Linked DNA regions of Homo sapiens: region 2 is linked to region 1. Evidence: promoter capture Hi-C in 16 types of primary human blood cells and fetal thymus (Javierre and others, 2016). All regions are on one chromosome and are shown on one strand. The core of a region is centred on a gene start or on the middle of the fragment in contact, and the rest is flanking DNA. Distances in the headings are between cores, read along the strand shown. Region 1 holds the start of POLI (DNA polymerase iota). Region 2 has its middle 110 kb from the start of SNORA37.

Region 1 (5,055 bases), core at 1,041-3,540:
ACAAAGCCTGTAAAATTTCAAATAGTGAGAAAAAGAAATCTGACCAGCAAACTAAGCTACTAACCAGCACAGAAAAGTAACATTTATTCTGCTTTCTCTTCATTTGTTCTGCCGACTACACTATTCTCAGATTCACCACTTATTAAATGAGGCTTGTAAAATTTACACTTGGTAGTGAAGCAAAAATGACCAGCTATAAAGCACTGTAAGAACTGCTTCCAAAATCTTTCTTAATAAGGTTAATAAATCAGTATATAATGAGCATGATGAGTTGCTAATCTAATCATTATGCAATTAAAAATATTATAAATCTACAGTTACCTAAAGGTTTGTCTTTTAGCTCTGGATTTGAGATCATTTCTACTTGTGCATAAAAGCAATCCAGATCCACATGTACTATGACTCTGGATGAAGCATTTGGTGTGGGCAACACTTGATCATGAACTCCTGCACAATATGCAAAGAAATAAAAAGAAATTCAGGCTGCTTATTATCTCTGAGCAACTGACAGTTCCTTAAAACATGGTACCTGTGAAGGAAGAATGCAGAGTGACGTGTTTTCTCCTGGATTATGTGTGAAAGCATCGAAAAATTACAAAGACATGAAACTCCACTTAGGGTAGGGTCTTCAGTCCTCTTAATTACTGTTTGTGCACTGCGTTTTTCTCAGGATAGTAATAAGTTTGAAGGGAAAAAATGTGATAAATAATGGATGATGAAAGAGCTAATACTATCACCTGGAAGTTTATAGTAGCTCTTAGTGTAAACCAGAAGGGGCAGAAAAGTTGAAATGACGTTGATTTTCACACAGCTTGAAAATTATTCTAAGCAGCATGCCCTTACATTTAAAACAAACAAACCAACAAAAACTGAAATACAAAATGGCAAAAGACAACCAGTGGGTACAAGTGTGGGCTATTTTTAGCTCCCATGGCAGCAGGATTATCTGGTTTAATGCTAAATCGCCAGTGCCTAAAACAGTGTCTAGGACATAACAGACCACCAATAAATATTCACTAAATTGAAAGACTGAATAGTTCTTTGATTTTAAAAAGTTGTTAGGTCATTATTTGTCGGGGAGGGAATGACAGAGGCGACTCCTTCTCTCAACACTGGCTAAAAACAAGACAGGCAAAATACAATACAATATTCTGGTTGGGATCCTGGAACAGAAAATGAACGTTAGCAGAAAAACTGGTAGAATATTAATAAAGCGTGTAGTTCAATTAATAGTATTATACCAATGTTAATTTCCTAGTTTTGACAAATGTACTGAGTTTATGTTAACACTAGGGGGATCTAGCTCTGCAACTTTCAGGTAAACCTAAAGTTCCAAAATTTAAAAGGCCAGGCACGATGGCTAACTACTGTAATCCCAATACTTTTCGAAGCTGAGGTGGAAGGATCGCTTGTGGCTGGAGTTTGAGACCAGCCTGGACAACACAGCTACACCTGATCTAAAAAAATCTGAAAATCAGCCAGGTGTGGTGGCACGTGCCTGCTGTCCCAGCTACTCGGGACGGAGAGGCTGGGGCGGAGGATCACTTGAGCCCAGGGGTTCGAGGCTGCAGGGAGACCTTGTCTCTAAATTAATGAATGAAACAAAACCAGCAGGAAATGAGAACCGGTGCCTTTACATCCAGGCCCTGAGGTGGGCGGTACAAGGTAAAGACCAGAGCTGGAAGTGGGTCACCGGAGACGTGACCACAGCGGACCTGACTCCGCCTAGGTTCTGAGCCATCCCTTCCTGCCAGGACTGAGATCCGGGTCCCACCTTCTGCCAAATGAGCGACAAGGTCCTCAACTTCTCCAAAGTTAAAAGGCCCAGAAGCCTCTGCAGTTTTCGTCGGGCTGGCTGAGGGATTCCCGCCCCACCTCGCCCCTCACAGAGGAAAGGACGGCGCAGATAAACCCTCGACACGTATTTGTAGTGTGGACGCGCCCCACCCTACTCCTGCTGGGTGAAGCCATTCCTCTAGAGGTACCCGCCGCGTAACACAAGGCAGAGGGAGGCAGCCCTCTCTTAGAGGAGCCGAGTGGGGCGGGGACGGTCGCGCCCCAGTGGCCGCCGCCCCGAGCGTCCGCCTGCCCCACCCTTCTCATTTACACCCAAGGAGGCCGCTGGCTCCTCTGGCTGCGGCGCACCCTGCGAGCTGGCTGCCGCCCCCACGTCCGCCAGTTCCATGGCCCAGGCCTCGGCGTCTTCCTCGTCGTCGTCGCCGCCGCCTTCCTCCTCCGGCTCCACCCCCAGCTTCTCCATCCCGCCGCTGCCAACCGCAGCGCTACTTCCGGCCGCTTCCGCCTGGTCTCCAGGGAAACCGGGGGACTACAGTCTCCAGTCGCTCTGTGCCTCTCGCCTGCGCAGTCGTGGCCGACCAGCCTGTTGCCCAGAGTGACACGCATGCCAAGGAATCGTGGAGGCCCACGTGCGGGAGTTTTTTCCCGCCGGGTGGAGGCCGGAAGCGGAGAGATTGAAAGCACAAATGGCTATTTTTTTTTTTTTTGAGACGGAGTTTCGTTCTTGTTGCTCAGGCTGGAGTGGGCAACAGTGACGCAATACCGGCTCACTGCAACCTCTGCCTCCCGGATTCAAGCGATTCTCCTGCCTCAGCCTCCCAAGTAGCTGGGATTAACAGGCATGCGCCATCACGCCCAGCTAATTTTTTTGTATTTAGTAGAGACGAGGTTTCACCATGTTGGTCAGGCTGGTTTCGAACTCCTGTCCTCAGGTGATCCACCCTCCTAGGCCTCCCAAAGTGTTGAGATCACAGGCATGAGCCACTGCGCCTGGCCTTTTTTTTTTTTTCTTGAAGGCTTTGGAGTTAGGCCCACATCACAAATTTTAGCGTTTTGTCTTTGTTCCATTCGGCTGTTAGCAAACTTGCAAATCCCTAGACCTGAGTGATTAATGTGATGGGGTGGGAAGGAGTGTAACTGATAGTAAAGACACAGGTGGCCTTGTAAACTCATATGATTAGCAACTATGTTAAGGTTTGCTGTGTTTTGTTTGTTGTTGTTTTATTTAAAGACACTGTGACGAATTCAACCACAGAATTTTTAACATCAAAACTGAATAGGATTTGATACATGAGTGTTGTAGTCAGACAAAATCTCCAATCCAGACCCTCCATCATGCTGTGTGACTTTGGGCAGGTTACATAACTGCTGTGAGCCTCAGTTGCTCTACTCTTAAAAAAAAAAAAAAGTATTGAGATTGAATGAATGGATAAAAGCTACCATATACTGTAATATCCTAATGTATATAAAACATGTGGCACATAGGAAGTGCTCAGTAAATGTCTATTCTCCTTGCCTTCTATTAGGATACCATGTGTGCATGTGTGTGTTGGTGTGTGTATGTGTATGTTTTACAATAGAGGAAATTTGGAAATTCCTCCATGCCTGTATGTATGTATATACACTATATCTGTATAAATACCCAAATTAACACATATGTTTGGTTTTTTATATGATTCTACTTCTTATCAAATAAAATATTAGAACCTTGAGAAACCCTTTAAAGCAGCCATTCCCAACCTTTTTGGCACCAGGGGCTGGTTTCATGGAAGACAATTTTTCCACAGACAGAAGGGAGGGGGATGGTTTTGGGATGATCCAAGTGCGTTACATTTGTTGTGCACTTTATTTCTATTATTATTACATTTTAATAGATAATGAGGTAGAATCAGTGGGAGCCCTGAGCGTGTTTTCCTGCAACTAGACTGTCCCATCTGGGGTGATGGGAGATAGTGATAGATCATCAGGCATTAGATTCTCATAAGAAGCATGCAACCTAGATCCCTCGCATGCGAGTTCACAGTAGCGTTCAGGCTCCTGTGAGAATCTAATGCCGCTGCTGATCTGACAAGAAGCAGTGCTCAGGCAGTCATGCCAGTAGTGGAGAGTGGCTGTGAATACAGATGAAGCTGCACTCCCGGGCCCGCTACTCACCTCCTGCTATGCGGCATGGTTCTTAACAGGCCAGGGACTGGTTCTGGTCCATGGCCTGGGGACTGGGGACCCCTGCTTTAAAGGATATGTTGATGCATCCATGAAGAAAAGGGAATAACAAGCAGAGCTGGGTCTCAGTGGTTTGGAAACAAAATCTTCCTCTTTGCATATTTAATTCTTAGATGTCTGGACCAGTTCTTTCAAAGTCTGCTATCTAGGTTATAAATTACCTGTTCAGAGAGCTAGGCTGCTATCTTTGTGAAAGCTGTTTGATAAGTCTAGATAGTTGTTTGGTGGTTTTTCATTTTATTTAGTTATTTATTTATTTATTTTGAGACAGAGTCTCAGTCTGTCTCCCAGGTTGGAGTGCAGTGGTGCGATCTGGGCTCACTGCAACCTCTGCCTCCTGGGTTCAAACAATTCTCCTGCCTCAGCCACCTGAGTAGCTGTGATTACAGGCGTGTGCCACCATACCCAGCTAATTTTTGTATTTTCAGTAGAGACAGGGTTTCACCATGTTGGCCAGGCTGGTTTCCAACTCCTGACCTCAAGTGATCCGCCCGCCTTGGCCTCCCAAAGTGTTAGGACTACAGGCATGAGCCACCGCGACCCAGCCTACATAGAGAGCTTTTGAATTGAGTGTCTCTTTGTCCACTAAGTGCTTCTTGGACAACATTCAGTGGTCTGATTACTAATAGACAACCAAAGTTTGTTTTTCTTTTCATTCTTCCAGATAGAAAATGATATAAACACTAAAATACTATGGCAGATGAAAACGGTCTCTCTAGAAGAGCCCTAGGCTCACTAACATTCAACATGTTGCTTAAGTGAGACAGTGTTAAAAAACAATGCACGTAATCAAGCCCTCTTTAGTTAGTTGCATTTATTTCCCCATCCGTTGTTTAATTTGAAGAGTGGCTTTTAATTTCGTGAAAGGATAGAAAAGTAGACCCTTGGAAATCCTAGGGGAGCAAGCAGGGCTGGCTTGATGAGTATGTGACGTAGGCAGTCACATAGGGCTCAACACTTGATTTCATATTCTGCTCTTGTCTTGAAATTCTTAATTTTTTAACAAGGAAGCCCCATATTTTCATTTTGCCCTGG
Region 2 (5,055 bases), core at 1,178-3,677, 150 kb after region 1:
AGTTGATACAGTGCTTAGAGCCTAGAGGTATTCTGGGGCTTAGGTACTCCTTTTGCCTTAGTTCAAAGGAAAAACTTAGCATATCCAGCACCTCTCTATTGTTCCAGAGACATCTCAAGAGAGGAAGAAGCCAGAGTAAAAGGCATTGCATTAATTTTTTTTTGAAAGAGTGAGCATAGGAGGCTCAGAGGAATGATATTGTGGGAGATCAAAGCTAAACCTTTGACCGTTCCCCAGTTACCCTGCTTTTTCACTGTTGTTGTGAAATAGGAAGACTCTGCTGGAAATGTTATGGTAGCCGACTCCCTGTACTAAACAGAGCGCCCCCTCCTACAGAAGAGAGGATGGGGATGGGAATGCGACATGAGAAAACAGGAGGAAACAGAAAACATTGTCTCAACGAGTCCCCCTTTTTTTCTGCCTGTTTCATCACTGATATGGTTTGGAAACCTCAAATATATTTTGCCTGGATATTCAAGTTGCTGATAAACTGCAGAGTACAACACATGCTTCTTGCCATTTATTTCGTCAGCTTAGCTTAGATCCTTGCTGCTTAAAGCGTGGTAAATGGACCAGCTGCATTGGCATCAGCACCCAGGAACTTGTTAGAAATGCAGAACCTTGTGCCTCACCCCAGACCGCCTGAATTAGAATCTGCATTTTAACAAAATCCAGGTGCTTTATGTATGAGTTAAATTTTGAAAAGTGCTGGCTTAGATAACACTTTCTGTTTTGTTTTTTACCTAAGGTTTCCTGGAGCAGAGACTGCCCCTCCTATTCTGACTATTTTCTGGGATACTGGTCTATTTGGTGCAAGTGATTCAGAACTAGAGCAACTGATCTCATGCACCTAATGACTAGACTGCACAGAAAGATGAAGTCTTCCAGCATACTCTTCAATATTACTTATTTATTTAACATAAATAGAAGGTGCAGTTTGTCGTTCATTAAGCAAACCTGACAAAACTCCAACTTACAAGACATACAATAGGGAAATGATTATTCACATTATAAGAGTCTCTGCTTTACAGAGACATTTTCCAAACTATTTTTTTAAATTGCCTTGAGGTACATTTGAAATAGAATTTGACTCAAATATTACTTCACAGTCCAGTTTTTAAGATGGCACATAACACATAAATTGAGACATGATTGTACAGATAGTAGTTTTGTGCACATTCATTATTAATAAATTTCTGAAAGAGCTCTTAACCAGTCTTCTCATTTCTTTTTCCCATTTCATCCTAATTTCTCTAAGTCTACATTCTGGTATCACTTCTTTTTATTCATCTACCAACCTATGTAACTCTATTGCTTCACATCCTTATGAAGCCAAAGACCTCACTGACATTGAATTAGCAGAGGAGACGCCTAAAGATGAATTCAAGAAAAATAACCCTTCAGCCTGATGAATAGTAATAGTGGTATTAACACTTGATTTAAGCTTGTAAAGTCCTCTCTGGCAGTAAAGCCCTGCCTAGGAAAGCAGATAGATTCCAGCAGAACACTGAGCAACAGCACAAAAATATTTCTTGGGCCCCAAAATATTATCTATAACTGGTAAACCACATTGAAATAGTCACTCTGACCACCAGCTCCTGTAGATTCGCATGGGTCTTGTTCATATCTCTAATATGGTATGTATATTTCTATAGTGCAATCTGTGTTTTTGACCATTTCTTCTAGGGTATTTGGAGGTCAAGGACTTTGTTTTTCTCATTGTTTTGCATCCAGTGTCTAGCATGTAATAGTATTTCACACAAGCTTGTTGGATGAAAGTCTTTGCAATCTATTGCACAATTACTGATACTTTTAGAGAGGAGCAAGAATTTGACCTCTGAGCAAAGCAGCTACAAAAACCTGGTGAAACACTGATCTGTTATCTCTTCCCACAGAGGCAGGAGTAATGCAGTTCATCTAAAATATCAGATCATAAAAATTAGTATTTGGCTTAGAAATTGTGACTATATTTGAATGTTAATAACTATGAAACACTAAAGAGGGAGAAGAAAACGATGCCTGCTTCACTGAAAAGCTTTACTAACCAGTTACATCTCAGACTTGTTTATCTCAGAGGCTGGCTATGCTTATGCATGGAGTCACTTCTCAAGTCAATACAAAGAACTCAGCTCTGCTGGAAACCTTGCTTGTTCACATAGGCAGATAAGGTTCTTAAAAATAGGCCTTCTTTTCTAGGCTTTGCTTAGAAAGAATCACATCTTTGTCATCTAAGTACTGAACTAAATGCAATGAGTTCTCCCAGACAGATTAAAAATCCTGCCAAGGTAACGTACTAGGAGGTGGGTGATTTTCTGGAGTAACATTCTTTTTGCAGTTGGAACAGTTCCCTCCTGGTGCTAGAATCCTAAATGCTATAGTCATTTGGGTCCCCTGTGTTCAGATATCTGTCCCCAATGCAATCTGGAGGTAGCTGTTACTTCAGAAATTTGTGAGGATATATTAGTTCGTAATGATTGAACTCATACTTCGGAATGAAAGTCACACAAGTTTTCTATACACTTAAATATACACAACAAATCAAAAGTGCGGTTCTGGTAGAAAGTTTCTCAGTAAGAAAATGATGAGAGAATGTAAAGAGAAGAGGCCCTGTTCTTGTCTACTCTGGGCATCTCTTTTTCCACTATATAAAATGTGATTATTCTCTGAAGAATTTCTTATGCTTTTTTCCCCCATACTCGTGTATCCAGAGATTTCATTTGCTTCCATCATGAAACCCAGTGGTAGAAAAACAAAAGATTTTGTTTTTAAGAAGAAGCAAGATATTCTTTCACTTATACTGTTTGCCTAATGAAGCTTATTATCTCCAGAAGGCTCTGAAAACTGTTGTTATTATTATCCCAAGAATGGGATGCCAGCTGTTTGTTCTGACAGCTCTTTGATCCTCAATCCAATTGCTTTCAGGGCTTTGGCCATCTTCCCTTGTATTTTCCATGATCTACTCTTAACTGTCATTACTATTGACAGCAAAAGTCACTTTCTGATCAGCGTTAGAACTAAAAATGGATCCTCTGTTAGATAGACATATGGGCACCAGGTGCTTTACATGCACCACTAGTAAATACATCTCTCCCCCATTGCAACAGTCAAGTAGTGCTTCTCTTTAAAAAATTCCACACCCTATATCTCATGGGGTTTCAAAAATACAGTTGGTGGCAAGAATAATTTCGAAGGGCAGATTCAGAATAAGATAAAATATTATGAGGTTAAATCTTTGAGGATAATTGAGCTGGCATAGGCAATGGTCCAGGGGCATCGATTTCTCATGAAAGGGATAGAATAGAAAGTTAAGGCTGTCTCATTAGTGATTCTTGGAATTACATGACAAGCAATCCTTCTTCTTCCACCTTGGGAAATAGCTTACACTTGGAGATGTGAAACTTGTATGGTACATTAACTTTACTCAAGTTTTTAAATTTTTTTTTTAATTAATTTTTTTTTTTTTAAGAGATGGGATTTTGCTACATTGCTCATGCTGGTCTCAAACTCTTGGGCTTACATAGTCCTCCTGCCTCAGCCTCCCAGGCAGCTGGGGTTACAGATGTGTGCCCAACTTAAAAAAAAAATTTATGAACTTATAGCCACATTTAATTGAGCATTTCAGAAGTGAAACTAAATATACTCCTTACTGATTTCTTGCAATGTCAATCTCCTTTGTGCCTGGGTGACACATGGATAGTATATGAAAATGTGTGTGCTTTAGTTTAACACCTGGAAGGGAAGGAGGAGCTTTTGAGACAGTTGCCTCAGTCCTTGGCATTTTCTCTCTGGGGCTTTACAAGCTGCCTGTTTTCTTGGACACGTGCATAATGTAGTACGTCTAGGGACCTTCTTTTGTGGCTGTTGGAAGTGTGTCCAAAATTGTTATGAAATGTAGCTCAAGCAGTTGACAAGTAATAAAAGCAGTTGATCTCTTATCTTTTATGTGCTGTTTTAATGCTCTAAGCACTCTCTTGAAGGAGATAGGAAGCAAAGCTATTGATTTTTGCTCCATTTGGGGTGGGGTAGGCTTTAGTTGTATTGACAGATGCATGTCGCCAGGGAGTTTGTTGGGAGGAAAAAATACATCTCTTCCCTGGGTCAGACAGGCATTTTCTCCAGAGGGTTCCAACTAAAAGTGAGCATGGAAGGATTTCTCAGGCTTGTGTTTTATACTACAAAGGATTACCACCAGTTAACTGAGAATGCTGGTTGTTATGATTTGTTTTACATTAAAGGATTTAGAGTCTTTGGGATTATTCAGTAACTTAGAGTCATCAATCCAAATTATAAAAAGATTAGAACCTCTTTCCATAGGCTAGAGTAATAGGAGAAAGCTGTCTAATAATGCTCCTTGACATCTACCAGCCAATCTAAAATTATTGGATTAGCATATAATTGTTGGTCTAAATGTTCAGATTGTTTTCAGCCCAGAAGCTGTTTGGAGTGCATGATGTACTTCTCAGACACATTTATAAGAGGAAAAATCAAACTGTAGCATATTGAAGGAAGTATACAGCCAGATTTGACCCAAGAAAAAGCAGAGGGGGAGACAAATTTCAACTTCAGCAACTCAAGTTTTCCCACTGGATGTTAAATTTCCCTTTTCCGTACTCCCCGGCTGAGGCAGGAATGCATAGTTGTTTTCTTTTTAACCTTAATAATAAGATTTGGATACTTGTCATATCCATACAATATACATATTCATTAACAATTTAAATGGCTGCTTATTATTCTATTGTGCATTTTCTCTTCCTTGTCTTAGGTATGCCGTGTTCATGGGCTCTCCATATCTTCCTATCAAAATCAGCTTTAAGAAAATTCTCTGATTAATCTATAATCAGAGCTTGTTAATTCATTCAACAGACAATTGAGCAAAGTATACTGGTGTTGAGGAAGGAATAGAGGCAAAAGAGAAAGGTATTAAGAGGAATGGATAGGAATAAGATAAGATATACCCTCAGTGCTTGAGTTATGTGTTACTTTTCCTAGAAAAATGTAATTTTATTGTCAAATATGGCTCCATGGTCTTGTTTTCTCTTAAAGAAATTTCAGTGT

What was found. Contacts are between HindIII fragments. The CHiCAGO score rates a contact against its expected background, and 5 or more counts as called.
Region 2: a fragment that was not itself captured here is called in contact with the fragment with the promoter of POLI in region 1 in 1 of 17 cell types (activated CD4 T cells); the score reaches 6.5 in activated CD4 T cells.

What each region holds. Positions count from the first base shown.
Region 1 is chr18:54,266,752-54,271,806 of GRCh38, reverse strand. It overlaps POLI (DNA polymerase iota), which reads right to left and starts at 2,290. Exons shown (of 10, transcript NM_007195.3): 1 at 2,146-2,290; 2 at 322-447. The coding sequence starts at 2,260. It overlaps LOC124904307 (a long non-coding RNA gene), which reads left to right and starts at 1,902. Exons shown (of 2, transcript XR_007066379.1): 1 at 1,902-1,981. RefSeq lists enhancers at 1,809-1,858, 2,389-2,518, 2,779-2,928 and a silencer at 1,929-2,178. The HindIII fragment of the contact is 5,901 bases long and covers 1-5,055 here.
Region 2 is chr18:54,113,796-54,118,850 of GRCh38, reverse strand. No RefSeq gene overlaps it. Among named protein-coding and RNA genes, the nearest start is that of SNORA37, 110 kb to the left of the region's middle. The HindIII fragment of the contact is 779 bases long and covers 2,038-2,816 here.